Regions from separate parts of the Homo sapiens genome. Here region 1 is linked to region 2. The links are contacts of gene promoters, found by promoter capture Hi-C in blood cells and fetal thymus (Javierre and others, 2016). All regions are on one chromosome and are shown on one strand. The core of a region is centred on a gene start or on the middle of the fragment in contact, and the rest is flanking DNA. Distances in the headings are between cores, read along the strand shown.

Region 1 (3,181 bases), core at 657-3,156, 550 kb before region 2:
CTTCCCCACTATGCTTTGACCCTCCTCGCCTTTTTTCAGTGCCACAGTTCCTTGGCCTGGGTCCCCAAGACCCCCAGTCCGGGTCTTCTCAGCTTTCGGGGCCAAGATCTCGGTGCTGGCCTGGGAGCCACAAGGAGTCCTAGAGGTCTCCCCTTTCTTTTCCTTTCCAGTATCTGTGGCGGGGGGAGAGGTCTTGCAAGGGGGGGCGTCATGGGGATGAGTCTTCTCTGGCTTGGCTGAGTCCGGGTCCAGCTTGGCCACCATCAACAACACATCACCCCTCCTCACGCCCCTCTTGAAGGGGACAGTCTTTTTGGTTGGTGTCGCACTGGAGCCCAGCTCCTGGGCCTTCTCACCATTGATGCTTGTCATCTGCTCAGGGTCGGGGCTGCGGGACCCCTCGCTCTCCTTGCCCAGAATGTCTGAGCTCCCAGGAGAGCTTGACTGGTCGTCCTGAGAGATCTGCTGGCTTCCAGATCTGGTGCCACTGCTGGACTTGCTGTTGGGTTGGCTGATGGAAATTTCTGGGATCTGGGAGAAAGAACACAACCATGCCTACATAGCTGCTTGCTGACCTGACAGCTTTGTCATTCACTCGTGTTCGTTCATTCATTTCATTGTTCACTTCTCCATTCATCCTTCCACAGATGCTCGAGCACCTCCAAATCCAACAGGCATGGCCAAGCCTAGCACCCTTGACCTTGGCCTAGCCCCTCAAAGTTGAGTGATGGAGTGGAAGGAGTGGACTTTGGAGCCCAACAGAACCAAGTTCAACTCCTGACTCTGACACTCTATAGCTGTGTGACCTTAGCTAAATGACTTCTCCTCTCTGAGTCTGTTTTTTAATCAATAAAATGAGAATGATAAAAGCCTACCTTGCAGGGTAGGTGTGAGAATGTGTGACAATATGTAGAAACTGAGCCCAGCGCATAGTGTGTCCTCAACAACAGTAGCTGCTGCTACTACTGTTGTTATTTCTGCCTGGATTTTTCCTAGGCGAGTAGGGGATCCAGGAAAGGACTCAGGGCCTGTCACTAGAGGACCTGTTCTCACCTTGGCTCTAACACTCTCCAGCTAGGCTTCCTTCTATGTCTATCTGGGCTACCATCTCTTCTCTCTGGGCTTCGGGTTTCCCCAGTACAGGCAGATACCACCTGACCATCCAGATCTTTTATAGGATGAGATGTAGAAATGCACTTTGGAGATCAGAGAGAGAAGAATAAACCGAGCTGCTGCTACTTCCACTGCCCTGATCCCCATATCACACTTCCCATACCAGCTGAGGGCCCTGGTTTCTGCCCCTGGGGTCCCCCACTCTTGCCTGACCCAGACATTTGTGACTGCATAACACCCAAGGGGTTTCCACTGCCTGCTCCCTTCCCAGGCCTTGTTACTGCCTTGTGATTTTAGCCTTGTGCAGAGCTTCATCCTCAAACCAGCCTGGCTATGGCCTGAAGAGCTCACAGGTCCAGCTGTGCCTCCATCTCTGCAGAAAAAGACCTCAACCTCATAAGCAAGTTCTACCCTGATGTCTCGCTTCACCACCAGCCCTAGCCTGGGTTCTTCCATCTTGGACAATGCCAGCACAGCCTCACAGACACCCATGCCTGGGAATCTGGGATTCTCCCCCTCCTCTTGCATTCAAACCAGTCCCAGGGGCATGTTGATTCCACCCTGCCAAGCTTCACATCTATGTCTCTTTTTCCAAACTCATGTCCGCTATCCCTCACTTGGGCCATTGCCACAGCCCGTGAACTGCTGTCCCTTCAATTTGCTGCCAGCCATTTTATACCAGATCAAAAGATTTGGGTAGCTGCCCACAGCCTAAAGGAAAATCATTTGGCACCACCATTGGTCTTTCAAATTCCTCAACAAGGAACCCCAGCCTCCAATCTGACCATATTGTCCCTACTTGTTCCCATGCATGAACTGTACTGGTCACCTTCTCCTACCTGACCAGTCCCTGCTTCCAGGCTGTTGCCCATGCTGAGCTTGCTGCCTGGCGTGCCCTTTCCCCTCTTCACTTGTCCATGGTCTACTCATCTTCTATACCCAGCTCAAATATCTCTTCTATCTCCTCTCTACAAATCTTTGCCTGAAGACCTCAATCAGAAATTGTTCCAAGCTTGCACAAAGTTCCAGAGCACTATGCTAGTACACCAGTCACAGCGTGGCCACCTTCTGCGTTCCATTCTGGCTTTTGTGTCTCTCTCCTGTTTTAGGTGACCAATGCCACAGCAAAGTCTCTGTTTTCATCTTTGTAATAATCACAATAATAATAGTATCTATCATTTATATCTTCCTTGCAATGAGCCCTATATCACCATCATGCAATCTCCTATTTAATCCTCCGAAGGAACAACTGGAGTAGATTCTGAACTTCTCCCCATTCTACAAGCAAAGAACTAGATGTAAAGATGTAAGGTGACCCAGCTACAAAGGTGAAATGTAAAGCCAGTTCTCTCTGACTCCAAAGCCAGTGCCTTGAACTGCGGCATATTAGATGCCCTTCCTTTTCTCTCTAGGGCTCTCTGGAATCTCCTGGGGCACTTTTAAAAACCTTAACTCCTTGGCCTTATTCCCAGAGACTCTGATTGAGTCTGCCTGGGTTGTGACTGCCCGGGTGATTACGAGGTTCAGCTGGTGCTCAGCATCATGGCTCTGGGGCCCAAGGCCGAGTAGCTTCTCCTGACCTTCTGGGGGAAGGCAGGACATAGCCTTGGAAGGGGGATTGACTGCACTTGGCAAATCTCACCACTGTCTACACCATATTGAAAAGTAAGTCAGTGCCTTATTTTTAACCAACCACCACAGAGGAGACAGTAACATGGGGTGGGCCAAACAAGATAACCAGTGCCAGCCTCCTCCCACCCCACCCTCATATGCCCATGGATTCTCTTCCTTTGGACCTTCAAAGTCATCAAAGCCTTTGGTCCCCCCACCCTGCCACCCTTTTTAGCATATAGAGGGAAACAGCACCTCTAGAATAACTGGGGCCAATAGAAACTAATAGCACATTTTTACAGATGAGTAAACTGAGGCCAAGAAAGGGGAAGGGGTTTAGCCAGGACCACAAAAAGCGGCAGGGCCAGAGCTAGAATCTAGGTCTCCTTGACATTCAATACGGGTTACTTTCCACTCCAGTGTTATTCCAGCCTCTCCCTGTTCCTCACTGACTGGG
Region 2 (3,172 bases), core at 604-3,103:
GTACCCACCTTGGGGTTGAGGGACTGTGGCTTGCCCGCCTGGGTCTGGTGATCTGAGGCCATGGTGGACTGTCCTGTGCAGGAATGACCTGGAAGACATGGGAAGCAGCAGTGAGGACCTGGAGGGGCCACTGGCTTTTTCACTCTGTGGGGCCTTGAGACCACTCCCCTCTGGCCCCAAACATTCTCTTTTTCTCCTGGTTTCAGACTGTCCCAGAGCTGTGGGGTCCGTAAGCAGCTACTTCAACTTCTGTCCTTAGCTTCATTTATTTCTATCCAGGCCAGCTGCAGGAGGAGGGAAAAACGAGGTCTACTCAAAGAAAGAGAGCAGTAATAAACTAGAGCTTAAATGAGGTCCAAAGTGGGTTCCCAACACTCAACCCCAGACAATGGATACCACACAGAATATAGAATGGTCAATCCCAGAACTTCTGCCTTTATGCAGTAATTTCTTAAATAAAATTGTGTGGAACAAACAAAACCTATGCATTGGCTGTATTTGGTGGTGTGGTGGTGCCCAGTTTAGGAACTCACAAAGTTCCCTGTTCCCCTGCTCCTTCTCCCACCCTCTCCCTGGGACTCCTCTCCCCATCCTGGTACCTAGATTTCTCTTCTCTGCCACTGGTTTTACTCCCCCATTAGTGAAATCATCTGATACAGAACCCACATTACAAGAAAGAGAAGAAATGGGTGCGACGGTAGAAATCCAGGCACTGTGGCAGGCAGCAGGGTAGACCTGCCTTAGCTAGTGAGAACATCAGAAAAGCCTGGAAAATTGTCAGCCTCTTCCCCCTTCCTGCAGAAGGGGTGGTCAAACCAGGCTGTGTTTCCCCAGGGGTAAGAGAGGAAGCCTGGCCTCCCTCTTCAGAGATAACGCCAGCTTCCAGAAGCCCCTTCCACATGAAAGGCCAATACTGGATGTTTCCCAGGAGGAAGAAATGCAGTTAAGCACCTTGGCAGCCAAATCTACTGCTCTCCCGCAAGAAACCAGCCCTCTGGGCTTGTCAGAGTGCCTGAGGTCCTGCCATATCACTTCCCAGTCCTGAGTGTTCACAGACTGAAGAAGCTCAGTTGGTCCAGTTCAGGAGCAGTCTCTGCTGCCTGCCAGAATTGAGACTCTGGGCAGGTCTCATCCTCTCCCTATGCCTCAACTTCCTGTTCTATAAAATGGGGACAGTAATGATGTCTAATAATACCTGTGAACAGGTTGTGAGGATTCAATTATGTAATGTATAAAACCGGAAGCACTTGGCCGTGGTCCCAGAACACACTCAGCATGCAGCAAATGGCAGCAATTGTGGCATTATTAGAGTCATTTCTACCATGCTTTAGTGGCATTGAAATCACCTGTTGCTGGGACCTGTCACATACCTGTGGCTGCATCCTATCCCCTAGCACTCCCAGAGGCTAGGCACAGAGTGGGTGCCCCCTAATTGCAGATGTGGAGGAAAACTGACTCACCCACCTAGAAACAATGCTGAACTGTCACTGGTTTGATTCTTGCAAAACCCTCAGTTACATTCTCCTCCTCAGCGACTGGCGAAACAAGGATGCTGATAGTCTGTTTAATATTAATAATAAAGAACATTGCCCCAATGCCCACTGTGTGCCAGGCACTGTGCTGGATGATCCCCTAACTTCTCTTGAATCCTTACAATAAAGAAGGCTTTTTAACCCCCTTCCCAGTTACCAGAAAAGAAAACTGAGGCTAACAGCATTGAAGTCTCTGCCCAAAGTCACTTGTCAGAATCTGGGTGCTCCCATGCTTGCGGACAGGGGTGAGGATGAGAGAAAGAAGGGAAGACAAGCAAGAGAGGCAATCTTACCAGTGACACCAGCCCCTGCGAGTGCCGTGAAGCTCGGCCAGCGGGAGGTGGCATTTATACCTTCCCCAGAAGTGCCGGTGCCAAGATGAGTGACCGCTGTGCTCCTGCGAAAAGCAGGGTGAGAATGCTGGATTAAGCTCTCACCAAAGCTCGGGTCAGCAAATGCCCACAGACATTGTGTCTCTGCACAATAATGTCATTAGCTTTCAGATTCGGCCGCGCCAGGGCGGTCAGGCGGCTGGGCAAGGAGATGCCCGCTTTGCATGCATCAGCCGTCCGGCTGCCAGGGCCAGGGGTACGCTGGGTTCACTGGTACGGTCAGTCAGGCCGTGAGGCATGGCAGACAGAGGAACATCTCAGTGGGCCTGGGGAAGAACAAGTAAAGAAGGGTGGTTTGGCAGAGTCTGGGCTTCATTCATCTACCCATTTATTCATTCAACAAATATTTGTTGGGCATCCACTTGGTGACAATCTCTGTTCCAGGGGAGTGTCAGGAAGAGGACCTACGCCAGCCCAGGCCATTCAGAAAAGCTCCTGGGAGGTAGCGCATCCCTCAGGGATGGAGAAGAGGAAGCCTGGGAACAGGGTGGGGGGACAGTTCCAAGCAGAAAGGGTCCATATACAAGGAACCAGCATGGTGTATTTCAAGAAGACCTGAAAACAGGTTAACAAAGCTAAAGCATGACATGTGACAAATAGGGCCTGTGCCAGGTGGCCAAGGTGGGCAGGGCCTGATGTTGCAGGGCCAGGGAGGCCAATTATGGAGAGTGCATTTTATTCTCAAGGCCCCTGGCTGTTTCTCTTTCTTTTCTTTCTTTCTTTCTTTCTCTTTCTTTCTTTCTTTCTTTCTTTCTTTCTTTCTTTCTTTCTTTCTTTCTTTCTTTCTTCTCTCTCTCTCTCTCTCTCTCTCTCTCTCTCTCTCTCTCTCTCCCCTCTCTCTCTCTCTCTCTCTCTCTCTCCCCCTCTCTCTCTCTCTTTCTTTCTTTCTCTTTCTTTCTTTTGAGATGGAATCTCACTCTGTCACCCAGGCTGGAGTGCAGTGGTGTGATCTCGGCTCACTGCAACCTCTGCCTCCCAGGTTCAAGCGATTCTCCTGCCTCAGCCTCACCAGTAGCTGGGACTACAGGTGTGCGCCACCAGGTCCAGCTAAATTCTTTTTTTTGCTGTATCTTGTTAGAGACAGGGTTTTGACATGTTGCCCAGGGTGGTCTCAAACTCCTGAGCTCAGGCAATCCATCCACCTTGGCCTCCTAAAGTGCTGGGATTCCAGGCATGAGCCACTGCACCCGGCCTGTTTCTTAACCACTGTCCTAGAGTGAGTTGCTCTTAGATCCCTACCACTGGCCC

What was found. Contacts are between HindIII fragments. The CHiCAGO score rates a contact against its expected background, and 5 or more counts as called.
Region 1: a fragment that was not itself captured here is called in contact with the fragment with the promoter of CRYBB2 in region 2 in 1 of 17 cell types (M0 macrophages); the score reaches 7.5 in M0 macrophages.

What each region holds. Positions count from the first base shown.
Region 1 is chr22:25,765,465-25,768,645 of GRCh38, reverse strand. It overlaps MYO18B (myosin XVIIIB), which reads right to left. Exons shown (of 44, transcript NM_032608.7): 4 at 1-531. Among named protein-coding and RNA genes, the nearest start is that of MYO18B, 25 kb to the right of the region's middle. The HindIII fragment of the contact is 443 bases long and covers 1,685-2,127 here.
Region 2 is chr22:25,218,320-25,221,491 of GRCh38, reverse strand. CRYBB2 (crystallin beta B2) reads right to left here and starts at 1,853. Exons shown (of 6, transcript NM_000496.3): 1 at 1,826-1,853; 2 at 9-88. The coding sequence starts at 62. The HindIII fragment of the contact is 9,715 bases long and covers 1-3,172 here.